Regions from separate parts of the Homo sapiens genome. Here regions 1, 2 and 4 are each linked to region 3. The links are contacts of gene promoters, found by promoter capture Hi-C in blood cells and fetal thymus (Javierre and others, 2016). All regions are on one chromosome and are shown on one strand. Each heading gives the region's core, a stretch centred on a gene start or on the middle of the fragment in contact. The rest is flanking DNA. Distances are from core to core; before and after follow the strand shown. Region 1 has its middle 56 kb from the start of TENT5A. Region 2 has its middle 15 kb from the start of TENT5A. Region 3 holds the start of BCKDHB (branched chain keto acid dehydrogenase E1 subunit beta). Region 4 has its middle 35 kb from the start of TENT5A.

Region 1 (2,783 bases), core at 128-2,627, 1.6 Mb before region 3:
GCCTTTGACAAAAGTCCTGTGGTTAAGTGCATCCAAAAAGATAAAGGTAGAAAGCCTAATTATTAATGTCCACTTTTCTCTTGTGAGAGGATCTACAGAAAATAAGACCACCCTACATAAATATGAACAAAAAATCTTCCTGGGGCTTCAGAAGAATCTAATTGGTTCTCAGAAAACATAAAGGAAAATCTAATTGGTTCTCAGAAAACATAAAGGAAAATCTAATTGGTTCTCAGAAAACATAAAGGAAAATCTAATGCACCCCTCAGCAGGGCTTGGGTTTTCCAAGTCCTATGAGAGGGTAACAGAGTCTTCTGGTCATCTCAATTCCAAGGACAAGGCACTCGGGTGACCCCGAAATCAACAGTATAGGCAGGAGGAGAAAGACAGACCTGATTTGAGAATGTTTTCTTTTAATACGTACTGACCTCAGTGACCTTTGAGGGCTGTCAGAATGATGGCCAGAGGAAGCATTGGAGCATATGCTTACTCATTATACATGAATGTTAGTCCGGAGAACTCACAGGGGTGGTTATAAAATGTCCTCAGATCACTGTGGGCCTCTTTCCAATGACATGTCAAGCAGCATGGGCCTGAGCATTTCGTACTTACATATGTATACACATGTATACATGCAGTTTGTGAATGTATTCAATGAACGATTAAGGGGGGTCTGTTTTGTGCAAGTCATTTGTAGAGAAGGCAAAATGGGCCTAATGCTGCTGTTGGCAATTAAATATATTTTGAATTCTCTTGGGATAAAATCTTGCTACCAATATTTTTTTTAGTGCCAAAAATCTGCTAGTGAAAAACTGTATGGTCAGTTAAGTCCGGAAAACTAGACTAGAGCTCCTCGACTGCACTCCTCACAGTTTATGTACTTTATGCCAAGAGAAGTTAAGTTCATTATCTTCTAGGATATTTCTAAGTATTAATGTACACAAGCAGAAACAAACACTGCTTAATTTTCTCTGAAACTAGCTGATGTGCATTTACAATAGGAAGTCTTCCTCCTAGAAGAAATTAGAAAAAAAAAAGTTTTAAACAAGAATTTTTATTTTGAAAAGGTAAATTGCAGAAAGGTTTAAGAAGAATCACTGAAGTGCATGAGGAAAGTATTTGAAATAATTCCAAATTATTAAAAGAACAGAGTACTTTTTATTACTTTGCCAAAAGAAAGATTATTTTGTTGTTTGAACGACTTGACTCATTAAAATCTACTTATATAGGTGATGAATTTTTTTGGGTGAAAAGTTCTCAACTTTTAGATAGAGAAATATGATAATTCTTTGAATCCATCTGTCCATGAGGTAGGAGTCCGTGAAGAAGAAATTTTAGCCTGAGTAATATGTTTCATCTATGAATATTGAAAACGAACCCTATGAGGCCCACATTTAATCTACATTCACTGAAAACACTTGTACCTTTTACACTCTGCTTATTCATGCAACTGGATTAACTAAATACATAAGCTGCTGCTTTCAGCTCTGGTCCTCCTGTTTTCTGCTGGTAAAGGTCACACTGACTCATACATGAAACCTTTTGTTTATATCTCAGAGGTAGCTGACCCCGTTGCACCTGCTTTTGAATATCTGGCAAGAGACAGGCTTGCAAATGAATATGGCTCTTTCAAGAGGTTGCTTATTTTAAAATGAAATTAGCATTTCCATAGGTGCCAAACCACTGGCAGAGGAGAATGGAGACCTCTGTGTAAGTGAAGACAGGTATATTGTGGAATTGTGGCAGCATCTGCATGTTCATCTTACCCTATAAATAATGCCTCTAAACGATTGCTGAATGAATGAACAAATGAACAAAATAGTTATCTTTGACCCTTTTTACCTAATTACTAACATTTTATTTTGTTTATACAGACCTATTCTATAACTATGTAAAGGAGGAAATGTGATTTAAGCACTTCCCTTTTTTTCATAATACCCCTTACCCTTCCCCAAATATCAACCATGTATGTTACATGGACTAAAGTCATTACTGTGACAGTAACTGATATTCAATCAGTATAATTAGCTTCCTTTTGTGGTAACTAGTGCTCAGATCTTTCAAATGATATGGAAAAAATCAGAAGGGTATACCAGATTGAACGAGGAGGTGGGGAGGCACTGAATGCAATACTATGAGGTTAGATTTCATTCTGTGATCCAGTGAAGAACGAGTGGATATCTGGGAAAGAATACCATCAACAGATGTGTACACTAGGAAGAAAGTTGTGGTGACCATAAGTGTAACTGATTGGGAGAGATTCTAGAGGCAGGATGTTCAGTTCAGAAGTCATCTCAGTAATACCAGCAAAAAGACAATCTCTGTTATTAGCTGTTAGGATAATGGTTACCCTTATGGGCAGTAGAGACTGAGAGAGATTACAAAGGGAGTCCTAGAGTGCTGGTGAAATTCAGCTTCCTGATCTTGGTTTTGGATATTTGGATTTATTCACTTGCATATATCCATTGCAAATAAAGATGTATATTTTGTGTGTCTTTCTGTATGTATACTTAATAAAAAAAAGTGTAAAGAAAAATAATGACACCTGAATCACTGCAGTGGGAGTGAATAGCATAAGGTCATTTGCAGAGACAGAATACCACAAAGATTTGCACAATTACTGAAAGAGGAAAATAAAGGAGAGAAGAAAATCAAAGGTGACTTTGAGATGTCTTAGAAATAGAAGATATTTCATTTATACTATTAGAAATCTCATGAGGAAGAACTTCTTTTTGGAAGGAAGTTAATGAGTTCAATATTGGATATTTGAGATGCCAATGAGA
Region 2 (2,702 bases), core at 20-2,519, 1.6 Mb before region 3:
TGAATCAATTTAGGAGCACTGAACAGTATGAAAGAGATATTCTCAGCTGAGTTGTTTAGGGCAGGGGTATTTGAACGAAAGAACCTGTTGCCTCTTTTTGATTCCTGAGCTTGAGGAGTTGAGAACAATGGGTAAACAATGTTTGTTGTGGCATGGTACTCAGGGACATATCTGCTAGCACCCATGGATCTGTTATCTGTTCCAAACCAAATCTGGCAGCCTGGTAAAGTGAGGATTCCAGTTGTCTTGGGTAGTAACTACACTTTCTTTCTTTCTTTCTTTTTTTTAAATCATCTGCTACATTTCTCAGAACTAGGGAATCCCTGAAAGAAATTTTCAAGACATAGAGCACAAAGACTGGATCTGTTTGTTATATTTTGAGTAAGAATAGAGGCTACTATTCAGGAAATGCACTTTGTTATTTGAGGAAGGGAAATGTAGAAAGGGCAGTCTGCCCATTAGCCTTTTCTAAAAAGCAATCAGTATTTCCAGTGGCATCCTTAGCTGGTCAAGCCTCATAGAACAGTCTTGCCCTGGGGCATTATACCTGTTGTGCCCATTTGTTATGGGTTTTTCATGAGTCTCCCAATTTCAGAATGTTGCCGTGTTGTCAGACCTTGTGCCTGCCATGCTATGGCATGTTGTCACAATAAGGCTTCTGATTTTAGGTGCCGTTTTATAATTATTGAAAAAGTTAGGTATGTGACAAAGTATGCTGGACTTCATAGATAAAACAAAGTCTACAAAAAATTTTAAAAATTAGTCTCTAATTTTTGCTACTTGTATATATTAAAACCAATGTGAATTCTCTGAATCTTGTCCAGAATTTCAACCTACTTAACCCACGTGATTCACATGAGAAGGGAGGCTAGGAGGGAGATGGATCGAGAAAAATGAAATAGGAGGATGTATTTCACAATAAATAATGAGAATTTTATGTAAAGTTCCAATTAGAAAGAAGGTAGATTTAGGCCTTCTAAATAAACTTAAGGTTTCAAGAACCACTTGAAGAAATCTGTAAAGAGGAGGATATCAAGAGCAGGAGGATATCTGAGCTATACACAGTTGTAGCCCAGATGAAGTAGTACAGGCCCCAAGAAAAAGAATGGTTATACAATGTGACCAATACTTCCCAATGGAAGGCTTTTCCATATAATGTATAACAGAAGTGGTACACATTCATAGCAATTTGATAAAACAATTATATTTTCCAGTTAATAGTCACAATAATCCTGATAGGTACAAAAGGTATTACAATTATCCCACTTTTAAGTTAAGAAAAATGAGTTCTGGAGTGTCTGAGCTTGTATGTAAGACATAAAGGCTTTTGGAACTCATTCAGTGATTACACAGAGAGAGTCTATTTCTGCCTGAAACACACAAGGTAAATTGTGTCTTTAACAACCCATCTCCTATCAACCATCTATCCAAAAGGCAGGTGCATCATAACAGCACAGTAAGTAGAAGGTTCAGGAAGAGCATGAGAGCTTTTCTTACAGAAAGAGATCACATCAATTGCCTATTGTGAGTGGATTACCTTGTGAAAAATAAGCATGATTTAAATTTTCAGTTGACAGTCAAAATTCAATAAACTACTTCGGTGTTGTCAAAGCTGTTTTCTGTATTCATATTACAGAAAATGGGCCACTTAATCTTTAAAAAGTGATCAATTAGTCTAGCCTACATCGCTTCTTATTGGCAATGCATGCTACCAGGTGGCTGCTTTTGAATCTTTAAAAAAAATTAAAGAAAATGTCTGAAAGGCAAGGTAAAGAGTATAATGAGATATGCTAACTTCTTACAAAATTCTGAATAAACTCATGAAACTCCTAAAATGTTAATTAGTCCTCTTGTGCTGTATGCTTATCACACCTGTTTAGTTATGCCACCACAGACATGTTCCCTGGAATTCTTATTCTAGTCTGTGACTTCTAGTTAATGATGTCATAAGCCTTTCTCAGTACATAGTGGCACCAAAATTCTCTTGTCACTTGGTACATAGTTCATAGGGATGGGAGCACAGAGAATCAGGTTAGTGGGCCTGGATTTTAGTTCTGAACTTGTACTAGTTCATGCATTTCTAAAACTGTACTTAAAGAAACACATGCATGCCCAGGCCCACCCTTAGCCATTTTTATATAGTCAGACTTGAGTGAAGCAAAAATACCTGTGATTTTCACAAAGTGTTTCTGAAGCACAGCTCTGCTCAGAGCCCTTGCTTTACAGGTTCCAATAGTGTCAAATCTATGTCACTTAGCCTGAATCCTCTGGAAAGCCGAGCCTGAAGCAATGATTATGATTCTAATAGTTTATTTTCCAGATACAATCACATCACAGGATGTTGAGGTAAGGAACAGATGTAATCTCTTGCAACACAGTGTGCTACCATGCTGGCTACTGCATCACAGCCATAACACAACATATCAGATAATTCAGCAGGCTTGTTCAGTCAGCAGGAAGGAATTATCTAGAAGGCTTGAAAGGAAGCACTGTACCTGGGAGTAGTATGCAGGGGAGAGAAAGGAGAAATAATTGCCTGCTTGCTTTCTCTCTGTCTCCCTTTTCCCACTGGTCAAAATTCACTCTGGGTAGAACTACCTCTTTCACATTTCTAGTTGCTTCATCTGGTCCTTGAGTAACTGTGCAGGAATGCAAATTTTATGTCCTGTAGGGTGATGCTTCATTTAATTCCAAAGGTAGGG
Region 3 (2,704 bases), core at 84-2,583:
CTCAATAACTGTTCATTCTTATCCACAAGACACACTTCCAAAAATGTCAGCTCTAGCATGCACATGAGAAGTTATTAGACAAGGAAGCAATACATGTTTCCCTACAGTTTCCTGATATTCTGAAGAGAGACACTGGATCTGATATTCTGATGAGAGACATTACATGAAACTTGCAGAAATGGTAAAAATCATGCAACAGTCATACTATGAGGAGTTTGCTACATGCCCTTCCTATGGCTTCCTCCTCTCATCCCCTTCACCTCCTTGGCTAAGTGGCAGCATAGCCCAGGACAAGCTCAGTACTAAGCTCAAGTAGAAAGTCTGAATTCTTTCACATCTCTAGGAAGGACCTGTTCTGTGACCTTGGGAAAATCAGTTCAATTACTCAGAATTCTGTAGGTAAGAAGAAACCAAGGGACATATATACATATATGCATATATATATGCATATATATGTGTGCATATATATATATGCATATATATATATATGCGCACATATATATGCATATATATGCGCGTATATATATCCACACATATATATATGTGTGTGGATATATACACACACACACACACACACACATACACACAATTTCTGTATGTAAGAAGAAACCAAGGGACTGAGTAACTGAATTGATTTTATATACATATATATATTTTATATATAATATATATAATATACATTTAAAATATATATATATAAACATATATATATATCTTTTAAATGCCTCTACCTAAGCTAGTGGCCCAGTCCTGGCCAGGCTGGAACAACACCTAAGGCCTGGGTTGAGAAAGCAAGGACGGAGGACAGAGAAAAGGGAGGCGTTCCCTGGGCACCACCCCTCCACCCTCAGGCTCTTCCAGGTGGCAGTATGCCCTCTCACCCATCTCAAAGTTGCGGGGGAGGGGGGACTGCGTCTCGAGGGCTGAACAGTCACAAAAATAGAGCAAGAAGTGAACCACAGTTAGACCCTGAGGCAAGGAGGTTCCAGAGAGTCAGGAAGTTAATAAGCTGGGATGCAAGGATTGCAGCCTGCCGGCCCCTGCCCCTCGCGGGCGCCTGCGAGCCTGGGAGTCCGGGCTGCAGCGGGACCGAGTGGGCAGTCCCAGGGCTCACCGTACTCCCGGGGCTCCGGATCTGGCTGGAAAGTAAAATGAGCCACCTGCCGCCTCTGGGCCGCATCCTCGACAGTCGCGGCGGGGTGCAAAAAGCCCCGCGCCAGCCCCGCGCCAGGAAGCCGACGCCAGTGCCCCTCAGCCCCTGCCGCCCTGAGCCTGAGTAGCCAGCCGGCAGCCGCCGCTACAACCGCCATCCCCGCTCACCACCGGGATTCTCAGGCTATGCAGCCGCACGCCGCCTGCGGGGAGGGCGGAGCACCCGAGGAGGCTTCCACATTGGTCGGGCCAGAGGGGCGGTCCCATGAAACAGACCAATCGGAACTGGAAATTTAGGGGCGGGGAAGGCGACGTGACGAGCTGGTCGGCTTCTGCTCCTTGTGCGCATGCGGAAGAGGGGAAGTGTGGGCTAGAGGTGGCGCCAATGAAATAGTTTCTGGGGTGGAGCCTCCCCGAGGTCGGCCGTGCGGTCCTCGGGTGAGGACCCGAGTTTGCAAAGTTCCACACAGTGCCTGGAGGCGATCTTTTCCGGTGTCATTTACAGTGCCATTTCCAATGGTTTAACATCCATACTTTTTTTTAAATGTAACCCTTTTTTATCCTGTCCTGTCTCTATTATTGTGTGAGAGGTGAAGAGAGCTACTGATTGGCATTGGTTATTGTTTTGACTTTCGAAAAACTGCTGTAGTCACTGCTCAAAGCTTTCACTCCTTATTCACACCCTCCTTAAAATGCTTAATAAGCATATATAGATTTTTATTGATTTCGTTTTTCCACATTTAAATGAGAGATGAAAGAGGTAAACTTAGATTTCATCCTGCAAATCCACTGAATAGGAATTCAGATACATTTTGCCCAGAAGTAGCAAAAATTACCTGATTGGCTTAGTCTAAGTAGCTTAGAAACCTGGAGAATTTGAGTCACTAATTTTCATTTATAGTAATCAACTATGTAAATTTGTTTTAATCTAAGTGTTTACCAGGATACATTCTCTGTCCATGAATTTACTAAAAAAAAAAAAAAGCACATAAAACATGAAATATCATAAAATCAAATATGACAAGAGACAACAGAGACAGTGTGTCCATCAGATGAAAATGGGAGGGTGGGGAAGGATGGTCCCAAAACAGAATTTGAAGAAGAAAGTGGGAGTGGAGGAAAAGAACATTCCTCTTCCATTATGCCTTGCCTCTTAACCCATCTTTGGTTTTGCACAGGGGCAAGGGAGGAGAGGGTAGAAATGGGGCAAAAGGAGAGGCAGAGAAATGTGTTTTCTGACTGAGATTAAGAAACAGCAATTGAAAACTGCCAAAGGGAGAACCAGAATTATGTCTCCATTTTTCCTACCCCCACACTAAGTCCAAAAATTCAACATTGGGGAAATTTTTTATCTTGGCTTTTGTTAGTGTTCATTTCTGCTGTTTTAATAGTGTGGGGTAGAGTGTTTTGCATGTGCATGAAGGGTATTTTTGTTTTAATGAAGGAAGGGGTAACAAAATGAAATTACATTTACATAGTCAAATTTGGGTTTAAACTAAGGAGAGTAAAGAACAAGGATAAAAATGAATAGAGCTTTTTTTCTATTTGTTGA
Region 4 (2,743 bases), core at 177-2,676, 1.6 Mb before region 3:
TGTTTATTCATACTAAATGGCAAAGTGTTAGAAAAGTGAATTCCTCTGCCATATTTGGTTCCTTGAACCTCAAAGCTTCTTAGAGAAATGCTGATTCTGCTTTCTCAGGAGGAATAATTTTCCCAGCAGTATTTCCACCAACTTCTTCCTGGATAAAGAAAGATTTTTAGGGTTCTCCTTGAAATAAAAATGACTTGAACCAAAATTGATTGAATAGATTAGGGGAGTACAGGTATATCTTAACAATCAAACAGATATGTTAGCTACCAGTTCTTTACAAATGGTGTGGAAAAGAAAAAATGGCTGTGAAAAGTTAGGCTGTGAAAAGTTAGGTAGCTGAGCTAACAAAAGATAAATGCTCTGGAACACACGTGGTTCTTCATAGTCAAATAATCAGAGCCATTTAGACATGTTGTCTTTGGAAAATAAAGAAACACTCAACTAAAAATATGATCAACAAATATTTCTTGAGTATACACCAACCAAATAATAAGTTAGATGAGTTTCCTCATAGAATTCCCAGCCTAGTGGAGGAGATAAACTGGGTGATAACATAAAAGTCATAATTCCTCCCATGCGATCTTACAAAGTGATTATCTCCACCAATCTCACTCCTAAAGTCCAAGATGCTCCTGTTTAATAGTGTCATTACCAACATGAGATATGCTTTGAAGAAGGAAAGGCAAAATAAAATCATATTTACAGTTTCTTTTACCAAAATGGAAATCAGCTTGAAAGAGTTCAGTAAAACTAAACATGAAATTGAAAGTTATAGTTAATCCATAAATTTGGTAACTGAGAGGATAACAGTAGAGTAAGGAACATGGAAAGAGTATGCAAAAGTTGAATTAAGTAGACTTATTTATAGAACATTTGTGTAAAATAGAAATAAATTGTTCTTATCAGAGAGGGGAAAAAAATTCTTACCGTTGAAAGTCAGATCCATGACTCAATTTTTGTAGGTTTTTATTTCCCCTCTCAATCAGTTTTTTCCTTTCATTGTCTCCCTGAGGTTTGCTAAAAAGGTCATCCAAGACATATGGTTTTCTTTTCTTATTTCTTCCCTCATTTGGGGATGTTCACAACTAGGTTTATTGGGCAATATTCACTTATTCATAACCTACTAATCTTTCCTTTGTGGTATCCTCTTCCTTCAGAGGATTCATGATATTTTTATAAAGTTTAAAACACCATTTTTTTCCTAGACTCCTGAAAGAAATATTGTCAAAAAATAGGGGTTATTAGTAAAATAATTAATTACTTTTTCACCAAAGGTTCCATCCTATATTACCCAAGAATATATTTCACGTATTTTATGGTTAGACGATCATAGTCCTGATCACTATATCTTAAGTATTGACAAGTTTTTCTTATTCAAATAGACATTTACTTCCTCGTGATAATTGTTTTAAAGATGACTTCCTCCTTCACATTTGTAAAGAATGATTATCTAAATGTCATCTGTTTAGTAGTGCTAATATTATATTTTAGTGCTTCTTTTGAATGCTTAGCCTTTAGTATTTTATAAGCTGAAGACGGCTCTTATGCAATTGTTTTTACCTGTTAAGTCACTATTTCCACATTAATAATAGGGTAAAGATATCAGGCTTCAGTTTAGATTATGAAAGTTCCTAATGTCTTTTCCACATTGACTTCAAGCAAGGAGAAGACTTCCTCTCTTGTTTTCATGGGAATTTTATGAATTCCAATATGTATATTTTTCCAGCTGTAGTATTTTATTTGCAATTGGAAATTACCAGTTAAGATACCACTTTTCTTATGAAAAACTGTTGAATACCAAGTCCTAGCAGTCAAAGCTGATTTCAGCTACTCTAGTGGTATCATTTTTTTCATGTATAACTTAGAATTTTTAAAAATTCTCTTCAGTTATTTACATTGACACTTCAGGGTCAGGGAAACATTAGGTTATGTTTTTTTTTCTCATATTAACTACCTTTTTGTAAGTATAATTACCTTTTTTGTTATATGGCCTTAAGTAGATGAGTAAGACAAATGAAAACTCTTGACTAATATTATTAAAATGAAGCCATTTAATTTGATACCTGTCTTAGATTGCAAGTGAGATTCCTTGATTCAAAATGTTTTTGTGTCCAGAAAATACTCACTGGTAATTCATTATAGCAGCAAGTCTTTATCTTTGCTTCATCTCAGGAAAATTATTTCCCTATTATGCATTTGACAGACTAGCTCAAACTGACATGCAGGATGAAATGAAAGGTTGTGATGCTCACATGGATTTTTGGGGTCATGTGAGTTTATATTACTTCATGCTTACATTTTTATAAATTTTTGAAGGTGAGCCTGTATTTCTCAGATTTAAATGTTTGTCATGTTTCTCTCTCACATCCTTAGATATCTCCATTTGAAAAGTAGCACGTTACAGGTATCATGGAACAATAAGCTAAAAATAGGTATAGCTTTTTCTCAAACAACACCTTATTTTAGTTGTTGTTGAGGAATTTCTTTTTGTTTCCAAAAGAGGAGACAGTGTTTTTTTTAGTGGGGTGGGGCATGCTTAAGTAGGAGTCAGAATATTGGTATGGGTCAGCTCTGCCACTAATTAGTTAAGAGGGTCACACCACCTAATCCCTGAGCTCAAGTTCTTTGTCTGTAGAGTATGAGGCAGGATGAATGAATTCTGAAGTTTTTAGTGGGGTGGGAAATGACCTTCTTTTCTCTACCTTTATGTACGGTTATTCATTTATATGTTTTTTTCACTGAC

Evidence for each region. The method cuts DNA at HindIII sites, captures the fragments that hold promoters and counts their contacts. A CHiCAGO score of 5 or more calls a contact.
Region 1: a fragment that was not itself captured here is called in contact with the fragment with the promoter of BCKDHB in region 3 in 1 of 17 cell types (neutrophils); the score reaches 5.5 in neutrophils.
Region 2: a contact is called between a fragment that was not itself captured here and the fragment with the promoter of BCKDHB in region 3, in 7 of 17 cell types (neutrophils, monocytes, naive CD8 T cells and 4 more). The highest score is 9.7, in neutrophils.
Region 4: a contact is called between a fragment that was not itself captured here and the fragment with the promoter of BCKDHB in region 3, in 4 of 17 cell types (total B cells, neutrophils, total CD4 T cells and 1 more). The highest score is 9.5, in total B cells.

What each region holds. Positions count from the first base shown.
Region 1 is chr6:81,695,458-81,698,240 of GRCh38, reverse strand. No RefSeq gene overlaps it. Among named protein-coding and RNA genes, the nearest start is that of TENT5A, 56 kb to the left of the region's middle. The HindIII fragment of the contact is 7,622 bases long and covers 1-2,783 here.
Region 2 is chr6:81,735,894-81,738,595 of GRCh38, reverse strand. No RefSeq gene overlaps it. Among named protein-coding and RNA genes, the nearest start is that of TENT5A, 15 kb to the left of the region's middle. The HindIII fragment of the contact is 6,057 bases long and covers 1-2,702 here.
Region 3 is chr6:80,105,300-80,108,003 of GRCh38, reverse strand. BCKDHB (branched chain keto acid dehydrogenase E1 subunit beta) reads right to left here and starts at 1,333. Exons shown (of 10, transcript NM_183050.4): 1 at 1,115-1,333. The coding sequence starts at 1,310. RefSeq lists enhancers at 991-1,070, 1,037-1,537 and silencers at 1,121-1,220, 1,251-1,450. The HindIII fragment of the contact is 20,612 bases long and covers 1-1,816 here.
Region 4 is chr6:81,716,648-81,719,390 of GRCh38, reverse strand. No RefSeq gene overlaps it. Among named protein-coding and RNA genes, the nearest start is that of TENT5A, 35 kb to the left of the region's middle. The HindIII fragment of the contact is 2,697 bases long and covers 78-2,743 here.